Regions from separate parts of the Homo sapiens genome. Here regions 2 and 3 are each linked to region 1. The links are contacts of gene promoters, found by promoter capture Hi-C in blood cells and fetal thymus (Javierre and others, 2016). All regions are on one chromosome and are shown on one strand. Each heading gives the region's core, a stretch centred on a gene start or on the middle of the fragment in contact. The rest is flanking DNA. Distances are from core to core; before and after follow the strand shown.

Region 1 (3,679 bases), core at 884-3,383:
TTAGACCACATTTTGAATCTTAGTATAATTTATTAGCTGTTTTATCCCTCGAAGCTTTATTTTTCTTATCTACAGAATGACAGAAATCATAGTACACACCTCATGAACTTGCTGTGATCATTGATATGGTATTAGCATATTGCTTAGCACATAGTAGCTGTCTGAATTAATTCTACCTCTTGTTATAACACAATCCATTATTTCTGCTGTTTGCAAATATGTTATTCATTTCCTACAATACAGTTTGCAATATTGTATTAGTTCTCTATGGCTGCTGTAACAAATTACCACAAATTTAGTGGCTTAATACCACACAAGTTTGTTCTCTTACAGTTCTGAGCTCAGAGGTTCAAAATCAGTCTCTCTGGGCTGAAGTCAAGGTGTTATCAGGGCTGATTTCTGGAGGCTCTAGAAAAAAAAAATGTTTCCTTGCCTTTGGTAGTTTCTAGAGACCACCAGACTCCTTGGCCCGTGGTCCCTTCCACTGTCTTCAACGCCATCTGTGTAGTGTCCCCACATTCTGTCACTGACTGTTTCTATCATCACATTGCCCCTCGAACTCCTGTCTCCCTCTTATAAAGGCCCTTCTGATGACCTTGGGCCCACCTGGATAATCCCGGGTAAGGGGTAATCTCCTCTTCTAAAGATTCTTATTTAATCTATTTTGCAAAGTTACTTTTGCTATGAAAGTTACTGTATTCATAGGTTCCAGGAATTAGGATTTTGGCCTCTTTTGGAGGGAGGAGTGCAGGGTATTATTCAGCCTACCCCAGGCAGGTACATCAGAGATCACAGTGAAGGAGACAGGAATATTGGCTGATTTAAGACCAATCATGTGTTAAATTCTAGAGTCTTTTATTTTCTTTCTTAATCTCATCACTAACAAACACGTGAATTTCTAAACAAATGAATAAACAAGTAATTGTCTGATGGATGTGAGAAATGTCCTCCTTCCCCATATCCCCCTCTTTTAACAACTTGACTCTCTAATTTTTCACAAGACAAAGTATCATTCACTACTCTCTCTGTTCTGTGTTCCCTGTGGAGCAGTGCCTGGACCTTGGCTCTTTCCTTTCCTTGTAGACAAAGCAGCCTGTGGCTTCTTATCATGCTGATTACCCAAATTCACTGCTGTCTTTCCTCCACACCCTCTTCTATTTCCAATATATGAATGCATATTTATAGCATTAATGAAATCAAGCATACGAGGGCACTGAAAGGAAAGGAGATGAGTATCGAAACCCACACTGCAAGTATCAACAGGCAAAAATTAAGAGAACATTTCATCAATTTGAGGCACAAATAAATGTGACCATTCTGCATTTTCAATTTATTTTTTAATGTTGATTCTTGGCCCATGAAAGTACCAATTACAGTTTATACAGAACAGTAATCATCAGCTTCTCATAACAGAAACTCAAAGTTCATGTATTGTTACATACTTTCTTTTTTCTTTTTGCATACAAGTAGAAGCAGCAAGATCTCCAATTTCATTGTGGGGTTTCAGATTCCACAGTGTCTTTTACATTTTATCAATTTCTAAATTCTAACTCTTCTTGATTTTATCTTGTTTAGATGTTACAAATTTTTCTGCCTCAATTTACTCTATATTTATGCCCAAATTCCAAAGCCCATTTTTATTGCCTTTGTCTCTCTCTTTTAAGGTTTTTTTTAGTTTCATTTTATTTTTAATTGACGCATAATAATTGTATATATTTTTGGGGTACAATGTGACGTTTCAATACATGTATACATTGTGTGATGATCAAATCAGGATAATTAGCCCATCTATTACCTCAAAACTTTACTATTTCTTTGTGATGAGAATATTCAAAATTCTCTCTTCTAGCTATTTTGAAATATGCATTATTGTTAACTATACACACCCTACTGCAGAATAGAATACCAGAACTGGTTCTTCCTAGCTATTGTAACTTCATACCTTTTAACTAACGTCTCGCCATGCTCCCCTTCTTAAGATTCTGATTGAAGGGAAGGATGCTAAACTTTCCACGAAAGTGCCTCGCCTAATTCGTGCTGAAGGGAAACTGAAACCTAAGTGCTTCTGAGAGGAGAAAGGAAACCGAAACTCCCGCCGGATGCATAAAAGACTGGCTGCGGTGGCTCAGAGCGCCGAGTCCTAGGCCAGGTCTGGGGTAACCTGGAACTTCCACCTGGGCTCTGCGCTAGGTCTCTGTTTCACTCCCTCCCCGCGGGGCGCGCAGCTCGCGGGTCTTTGGACACCACCGGTCCTGAGTCCGCGGTGAGGAGCCGGGGATGTCCCTTGGGAAGAGCCTGGGGCGGAGCTGTCTAGCGGGAGTTCTAGGTCTTCTTCAACGGACCGGACAGGGAGGTGGCCCAGGAGTGCTGGGCTCGGGGCGCGGGAATCTGGGGAACCTCCTGGGATCGCAAGGCCGTGGCGCACGGGCCCCCTGCTGGCCCGGAAGGCCGGGCGTGGGGAGGGGCGGAGGAAAGGGACAACCGCGAAAGGCCTGAAGTCTGAGACAGAGAGGAGTGCTTAGTTAGGCATTTAAGGAGTCCCCGTCAAAGGTGGGAGCTGGGTAATGGAGGTTGAGGAGAAATTAAGGGACATCATATCTAAGCACAGCCAGTAAAACCTGTACATTGACAGCAGCAAGAAGCTTCCACCTTCAATCCCTGCTCCAGACTTGTAGAATCAGAATCTGCGTTTATTAATAAGATTCCCCCAGGTAATTTCTGTGCACCCTTAAATTTCAGTGGCTTAAGACAATAGAAATTTATTTCCTACTCCAGTAACTTAATTTATTCCTGGTCAAGGGGCAGGTATAGTGGCTTAAAACATTACAAGTTTATTATTTTACAATTGCTGTGGATCAGAAGCCCAGGCATGGGTAAAGTGAGTTCTCTGTTCAGCATCTCATCGAGCTGAAATCAAGGTGTCAGAGCTGTGGCCTCATGGGACACCATGGATGCTCATTCAGGTTGTTGGAAGAATTCAGTTTCTTGCAGCTAAAGGACTGAGGTTACCTGCTTTCTTGCTGGCTGTTGGCTGGGGGTTCCCATGTCTTTAGATTTCACCCTGAGATCTTAGCTACAGTGGCCTTCTCACAACAAGGTGGCTTATACCGTTAAAGAAGGTATAGGGTACCTTTAAAGAAGGTATAAGCCTCTTTGGGGGAATCTCCCGAGTCTACTATGATGAAGTCTTACATAATATAACCGAATCATTAAAGAGACTATGCCATTAAATTCACAGGTCCTGTCCACACTCAAGGGGAGAGGGTTATACCGGGTACTGGAAGCCATTTTAACCCACCAGCTCTTCTCCAGGCAGGGTTTCAGGAGCTTGATGCCTTTCATCAAGTAGCTCCACCATTCTGTTCCAATACAGAATCCATGATTTCCTTTCCCTTCCCTTGCCCCCATTTTTTTCCTCTTTACCTCCCCTTTGCGCCTTTCCTCTTCCCTCCTTTTTTCTCTTTTCCATTTCTCTTCCTCCCTTCTTCTTTTCTTCTTCCTTTTTAAGATTGTTTGAATCAGAATATGGTTCTGACACTACTGTGATTGGAGGATAAGCCTTATAAGGTTCTTGCAATTTCTTTCATCCCCTTTTAATTTATTCGTTTGTAAGATTTGTGGTCTTATGATTGTTTGTTTTTGTATGTGTGTGTCCTGTTGGGTGTGTGTTTATGTGTGT
Region 2 (3,679 bases), core at 671-3,170, 680 kb before region 1:
CATAGACATAGACTATAGCAGAGATGAATCCAGGCTATAACATTTAACAAGACCTTATTAAAAGCTTCAAGATGTTAGCCTTTATCTGTTCCATATCTAGCTTACTTGGTTGTTTTTGGGGGATCACATGTCTGTCCTCCAAACTGGAAACGTCTAACTCTCCAGGAGATGCAGTAGCATTATTTGTTGGACAGTGGCACCTACTGGTAGTTTGTAATGTTTATAGCCTAGTGTGAAAGGCATTGTAAATGTATACCTAGCAAAAAGGGGAGTAGAGCAAAATTTCCAGAGTTTTACAAATGAAATGAAAGGATGATATGGGGGAGAGTCCTTTGGGGCCAAGGAGAGAGAGCACAGACTAGAAAGTAATACAAGCAGAAAGAAGGATGTCAGCCCATGTCTGTGTGGTAGAGGTCATCTTTCCATCTCACTGGGATTGTCCCTGAAAGTGTCTCACTGCTTAGGTCTCCTTGCCTGTCTAAGGCTTGGAGACCTTCCAGTATCTCATGCCTTATTCTAGATCTGCTTTTTTCCCCGAGGTGAAAAAACCTGTTCAAATGGTCACTCACAACTTTTGTGGCCTTACTTTTTGTCTCCGAAAGGACAAACATATCAGAACTAACATCCACCCAGAAGAAGGGCTGATCAGTTCCTTTCAACACAGCATGGATGAAAACCCAGGTTAGCGTTAGTGCTTCTTGAATTGGAAGTATTCTAACCTCTATGTACCTACCAATGTAAGAACTGAGGGCCCTTTTAAGGGAACTTACATTCCTAAAGTTCAAGTCAAGTTGTCATGAAGAGTACTTAATGAGGCATACTTTTAATCTTTGAATCGTAGTGTTGTAGGGCTAAAAGAAACCTCAGGCCAGGCTGCATGGTGGCTCACGCCTGTAATCCCAGTACTTTGGGAGACCAAGGCAGGCTGATCACCTAAGGCCAGTAATTTGAGACCAGCCCAACCAACCTGGTGAAACCCTGTCTCCACTAAAAATACAAAATTAGCCTGGTGTGGTGATGCATGCGTGTAATCCTAACTACTCGGGAGGCTAAGGCAGAAGAATTGTTTGAACCCGGGAGGCGGAGGTTTCAGTGAGCTGAGATCATGCCATTGTACTCCAGCCTGGGTGACAGGAGCCAAACTCCGTCTCAAAAAAAAAAAAAAAAAAAAAAAAAATTAGCCAGGCGTGGTGGTAGGCGCCTGTTGTCCCAGCTGCTGGGGAGGCTGAGGCAGGATAATTGCTTGAACCTGGGAGGCAGAGGTTGCAGTGAGCCGTGATTGTGCCACTGCACTCCAGCTTGGGTGACAGAGCCAGACTGTCTCAAAAGAAAAAAAGCAAAAAAGAAAAAACAGAAAAGAAACCTCAGAGATCTGTCATTTTCCACCTATTACATTCATTTTATGATACAGAAATGGTCATTCAGTTGCAGATAGTACATGACTGTTGGGATCAGGCCCCCAAATCTGGCCATAAACTGGCCCCCAAACTGGCCATAAACAAAATCCCTGCAGCACCGTGACCTGTTTGTGATGGCCATGACACCCATGCTGAAGTTTGTGGGTTTACCGGAATGAGGGCAAGGAACACCTGGCCCACCCAGGGTGGAAAACCGCTTAAAGGCGTTCCTGAACCACAGACAATAGCATGAGCGATCTGTGCCTTAAGGGCTTGCTCCTGCTGCTGATAACTAGCCAGACCCATCCCTTTATTTCGGCCCATCCCTTTGTTTCCCGTAAGGAATACTTTTAGTTAATCTATCATCTATAGAAAGAATGCTTATCACTGGCTTGCTGTCAGTAAATATGTGGGTGAATGTCTGTTTGAGGCTCTCAGCTCTGAAGGCCGTGAGACCCCTGATTTCCCACTCCACACTATATTTCTGTGTGTGTCTTTAATTCCTCTAGTGCTGCTGTGTTAAGGTCTCCGTGACCGAGCTGGTCTTAGCACGTGACTTTTCTCGGGTGATAGCTTTAATAGTATCAGCAGAGCAGGGAACAGAATCTAGTTTAATGTGTCCTAATCCAGTGGTTTTTTTTAACCACAAAATACTGCCTTTGAGAAAAGGCCAGGCCAGCAGAGTCAGAAGTTGAGCCTGGGATTTGCATAGTCACAAGGTCTTTCTTGCAAACCATTTCTACTGTAGTTTATTGTGTTTTTCTGTTTTTGTTTTTTGGGTTAAAATGCATCGATTTTTATGCTGACAGTTTGTGAGAGTTACTGGGAAGTATTCTATGCTAATTTTGCTAGAGTTTGAAAAGAACTTAAAGGATAATTGTGTCTATCTTTGAGAAGATAACATGAACTTTTACATGTTTTTGACAATTTTTATTCATTCTGCTTTTATTACAAGTGTGAGATGAGGTTTTCTTCCTAGGATACTCTCTGAGGCACTTTTGAAAATACTTTTGTTGGCTGGGCACAGTGGCTCACGCCTGTAATCCTAGCACTTTGGGAGGCTGAGGTGGGTGGATCACCTGAGGTCAGGAGTTCAGGACCATCCTGGCCAACCTGGTGAAACCCCGTCTCTACTAGTAATACAAAAATTAGCTGGGCATGGTGGCGTGTGCCTGTAGTCCCAGCTACTGGGGAGCCTGAGGCAGGAGAGTCGCTTGAACCCAGGAGGCGGAGGTTGCGGTGAGCCTAGATCGCACCACTGCATTCCAGCCTGGTGACAGAGTGAGACTCTTGTCTCAAAAAAAAAAAAAAAAGGAAAATACATGTGTCTAAAGACAGAAAACTTTGGACAGCGAGAACCCCCATGATATTGTTCTTAAGCTGATTGGATTGCCTGTTGATTATTGTGGCTCTTCACTGTAAATTAAGTTTCATTTATAGTTTGTTGGAAATTCTGCAGAGGCTAGTATCAATATCTGTGTTAGCTGCTTCTCCTTTTATTCTTGCATTCCTTCTGGCCTTCTCATTCTTCTTAAAGATGAGAGGATATGAAGGAAATATTGCTGACTTTTAAAATAAATGTGGTAAGATGTTATGGCAGAGAAGACTGTATTTCACTGTGTAATTTCACAGTGAAACATACATAATACAAAATTAGTTTTGTTATTCCAGGCCTTCATTACAGACTATCTGAAGGTAGTACTGTGTGCATTTTTTCAACAACTTTTTATCTGAATACAAAAATAATATATATATCTGTTGTAGACAGTTTGGAAAGAGCAGAAAAATATAAAGAAAATAAAAATCATTACCTGTAATTCTAGTATCTAATGATAATCACTGTTAATATTTTGGTATATAGTACTTTTTTCAGTCATTAGTATAAGTTCTTTGTTGTGTTTTTAATAGTGGTATAACTTAATTCATTTGTAACCTACATTTTATACACAAATGTTACTTTCAGATTTAAGTATCCTTCTATAGCATAATTTTTATTTTTTATTTTTATCTTATTCATTTATTTGTATAAATACAAATGAATGCAGGTGCAGATGCAGTTTGGTTATATGCATAGATTTCATAGTGGGAAGTCAGGGCTTTTAGGGTATCTGTCACCTGAATAACACCCATTGTACCTATTAGGTAATTTCTTATTCACCTCTGTCCCACCCTCTCACCCTTCTGAATCTCCATTGTGATCACATCCATGTGTACACATTCTTTAGCTCCCAGTTACAAGTGAGAACATATAGCATTATTTTTAATACCTGCATTATTCTGTT
Region 3 (3,679 bases), core at 455-2,954, 600 kb before region 1:
AAAGATTTCTGTTTCTGTTTTGCTAGGCCTTATAACCATGTCCTCATTGGCTATTTTGATGATACAATCTATTTTTTCAATACTTTATTTTCCGTATTGGTTAGTAATGTAGAATTAGTTTACATTTGTAAGTCTGATGTTCATTCTGTCAGAGAGCAAGGATTCACAGATGAGCCTACCAGCAACCACAAGCTCCAGGCTGAATGAGTTCTGTCCTGCTCGGTTGGTAGCTATACATGTGTAGATGCCGGCATCACGTGACGTGACTGGCTCTATGATCAGAGAGTGCACCCCGTTCTCACGCACCAGCATCTTGTGAGCACTGTCAGGGCGTACGGGCTTTCCATCTAGTTGCCAGCTTAGATCTGGGGTTGGTAACCCACTGACCTAAATCATAAAAGAAATACATGTAAATTTTTGTATTAAAACAGAGTGAAATCACTGGTAGCTAAGAAGTCTGCATAAATTCCTCCTTCAGTAGTACAAGAGGTGGCTTTTTTTTTTTTTTTTTTTTGGACAGAGTTTCACTCTTATTGCCCAGGCTGGAGTGCAGTGGCACAATCTCAGCTCACTGCAACCTCTGCCTCCCGGGTTCAAGCGATTCTCCTGTCTCAGCCTCCTGAGTAGCTGGGATTACAGATGCCTGCCACTATGCCAGCCTAATTTTTAGTATTTTCAGTAGAGATAGGGTTTCACTATGTTGGCCGGGCTGGTCTTGAACTCCTGACCTCAGGTGATCCGCCTGCCTCAGCCTCCCAAAGTGCTGGGATTACAAGCATGAGCCATTGCACCGGGCCAAGAGATGGCTTTTAGTATCAGCTCATGTTACTCTTTTGCTTAAAACTTTTGCTTTAAACTTTGGCTTCCTGAGCACTCACCAGCTTACATCTAAACAATTCTTACAGAGCAACCTAGAGAAGACCGAGATGGGATTTAAAAAATTGCTGTCATGGTCTTACCTTGCCCAGGGCTATGGAGATTAATGGGATGATATCAGCACCAGGCTCTGGGCTTCTTTGAAAAAAGATGTCCAACAATAATAACAAATACTCAGCTGGCATTTATATATAGTACTGTAAAGCTTCTCATCAAGGAGCAGCCATAGTTATGGAGAATGCATTCGTCAGCACACAGGGCTGCTATTATTATTTTATAATCCTTGAAACTGAATAACAAGAGCAATACGAAATTACCCAGAAAGCCATCTCAACAAATTACCATCACAATGGAAACATCATAAAATCTTGAGACCTTGACAGTTGTGTGGACCAGAGATCAGATAAAAGCATTTAATTGCTAATAACATGTTGTGCCGCAAAGGGTCAGGATGGTCGCCATCTGCCAGCTTTTTAGTTTTGCCCTTGATTTTGAATGGAAGAAATGCACTGTTAAGGAAGGCCTTTTTACCCCCTACCCCCAACTTTACTAGTACGAAGTTATATACAAAAAGATGTCACTTAGACTGTAAAACAGTTCTTTTGAAGAACTAGCTTTGCCAGCATCAGCCAGAGGACTCACAAATTCCATTCCTGCTACGTGATACTCAACTGATATTACCTGCAAGATGCCTCCCACCACACATGTAGCAAAGGGCTACAGCATTTAAAGTAAACTTAAATGACTGGTTAAAAGGATGAAGAGGTTTTGGAAACAAACAGCAGTAGTTAGGCAGCTTGGCTTCTGAGACACTCAGGCTCTGTGTTCTCCTATCTATCCACTTGCTGTCCCCAGCTCTCCATGTACACTGCCTGACCTGTTTGGAGGTCATCAGAAGTGGTGTGGAGGAAGAGGGAGTGGACATCTTTGGTCAGGCTCCTTGTTGTTCCCACATCTAGAAACAAAGCGGCACTGCTTGTTCCTACTTTACCAGGTTAGATCCTAGATAAGCCATCTACTGACTGAAGCCACAGTATGTTTAGTAGGAGAGATGCCCAAAGCACGCGTACTCTCAAACCACGTGATTCACAGTGAACCTACCCAGTGGATAGTTACTCATGCTAGGGCAAAGAGAATGCCCCTTGTACCTTTTTTCTAACCCCAGTTCTCCTGGCTAAGTAAAGACAGCATGATCTCAGGAGCTGAAGGTCACCACCAGCAGGTCACAATGTAACTAGATCTGTACTCTCAGCACACATGAAAATAGTGATGCTTGTTGCTATGGGAGTGGAATTAGTTATTTTCCTGAAAATTTAGTACCAGTTAAGGATAATCAGTGTCTAGGAATGTTCCTCAGGGGCTAAAAGGGGAGGGGGCTTTTTGGAGGAAAAGCAAGCTGCTGCTTTAGTGTTTGGCTTATCGTCAGGATTTTTTCCCCTTTCAAAGCTTAAATACACTAACTTTTTTTTTTTCCTGATCTATCTGTACATGTGGCAAGGTTTTTCACTTTTTTTTTTTTTTTAAGACAGTCTTGCTCCTTGCCCAGGCTGGAGTGCAGTGGGCACAATCTCAGCTTACTGCAACCTCCGCCTCCCGGGTTCAAGCAATTCTCTTGCCTCAGCCTCCTGAGTAGCTGGGATTACAGGCGCCTGCCACCATGCCTGGCTGATTTTTTTGTATTTTAGTAGAGACGGGGTTTCACCATGTTGGCCAGGCTGGTCTCGGATTCCTGACCTCAGGTGATCCACCTGCCTCGGCCTCCCAAAGTTTTAGGATTACAGGCGTGACCCACGTGCCTGGCCGATTTTTCACATTTTCTTTATCCAGGTCAGATCATCATAGTGAAATCAATAGGCAGTTTACTTTTTGTTTCCAATATTCTTTTAATGGCAGGCGTTTTAAGGACAGTTATGTGCCAGTCCAGTGAAAGACAGTACTGTTATTTCTTTCTTAAATATGATTAAAAATAGAGATAACCAGTATGGTAAGTGTGTATATACCCATCATTTAGTCACTCTCTTATTTTTTATATTTAAAAATAAATTCCAGATTTTATATACCATTACCCCCATATAGCTCAGTATGCATTTCTAAAAACAAGACTTTTCCATAATCACAATTCCATTTTACACGTAAAATTAATAATTCTTTGGTATAATCTAATTATCTATTTAAAATAAAATTTCCCTGGTTAACTCAAAACGTTATTTTACAAGTGGTCTGTATGAATTTTTTTAAGTGTTTTTTAATTGATAAAAATTGTATGTAATTCTGCACATTATTTTGAAATATGTATGTGTTGTGGAATACCTAAACTGAGCTGATTAACATATGTATGACTTCATTTTTTTTTGTAGTAAGAACACTTAAAACCTACTCTTAGCAATTTTCAAGTATATAGTACATCGTTATTAACTATAGTCACCATGTTGTACAACAGATCTCTTGAACTTATTCTTCCTGTCTGAAATTTTATATGCTTTGACTAACATTTCCCCAACTTTCCCTCTCCCCGTCTAGCCCGTGGTAATCACCATTCTATTCTCTACTATGAGTTCAACTTTTTTATATTGCACATATAAGTAAGATCCTGTAGTATTTATCTTTCTGTGCCTGGCCTATTTCACTTAACATTATGTCCTCCAGGTTCATCCATGTTGTCACAATGACAGGATTATAATTTTCCACTGTGTGTGTATGTATGTATATATATATATATCTCATATTTTCTTTATTCATTCATCTGTTGACACTTAGGCTGATCCCGTATCCTGGCTATTATGAATAGTGCTGCAATGAACAT

What was found. The method cuts DNA at HindIII sites, captures the fragments that hold promoters and counts their contacts. A CHiCAGO score of 5 or more calls a contact.
Region 2: a contact is called between a fragment that was not itself captured here and the fragment with the promoter of DDX60 in region 1, in 2 of 17 cell types (non-activated CD4 T cells and total CD8 T cells). The highest score is 5.8, in non-activated CD4 T cells.
Region 3: a fragment that was not itself captured here is called in contact with the fragment with the promoter of DDX60 in region 1 in 3 of 17 cell types (endothelial precursors, megakaryocytes and fetal thymus); the score reaches 7.4 in endothelial precursors.

Annotation. Positions count from the first base shown.
Region 1 is chr4:168,317,206-168,320,884 of GRCh38, reverse strand. It overlaps DDX60 (DExD/H-box helicase 60), which reads left to right and starts at 2,133. Exons shown (of 38, transcript NM_017631.6): 1 at 2,133-2,263. RefSeq lists an enhancer at 1,870-2,199. The HindIII fragment of the contact is 2,588 bases long and covers 57-2,644 here.
Region 2 is chr4:168,992,244-168,995,922 of GRCh38, reverse strand. The region is part of intron 4 of CBR4 (carbonyl reductase 4); the gene reads left to right. Among named protein-coding and RNA genes, the nearest start is that of CBR4, 16 kb to the left of the region's middle. RefSeq lists enhancers at 1-805, 806-1,612. The HindIII fragment of the contact is 3,707 bases long and covers 67-3,679 here.
Region 3 is chr4:168,918,242-168,921,920 of GRCh38, reverse strand. It overlaps PALLD (palladin, cytoskeletal associated protein), which reads right to left. Exons shown (of 22, transcript NM_001166108.2): 18 at 180-387. It also overlaps a transcript of CBR4 not described here. Among named protein-coding and RNA genes, the nearest start is that of CBR4, 90 kb to the left of the region's middle. The HindIII fragment of the contact is 1,241 bases long and covers 1,084-2,324 here.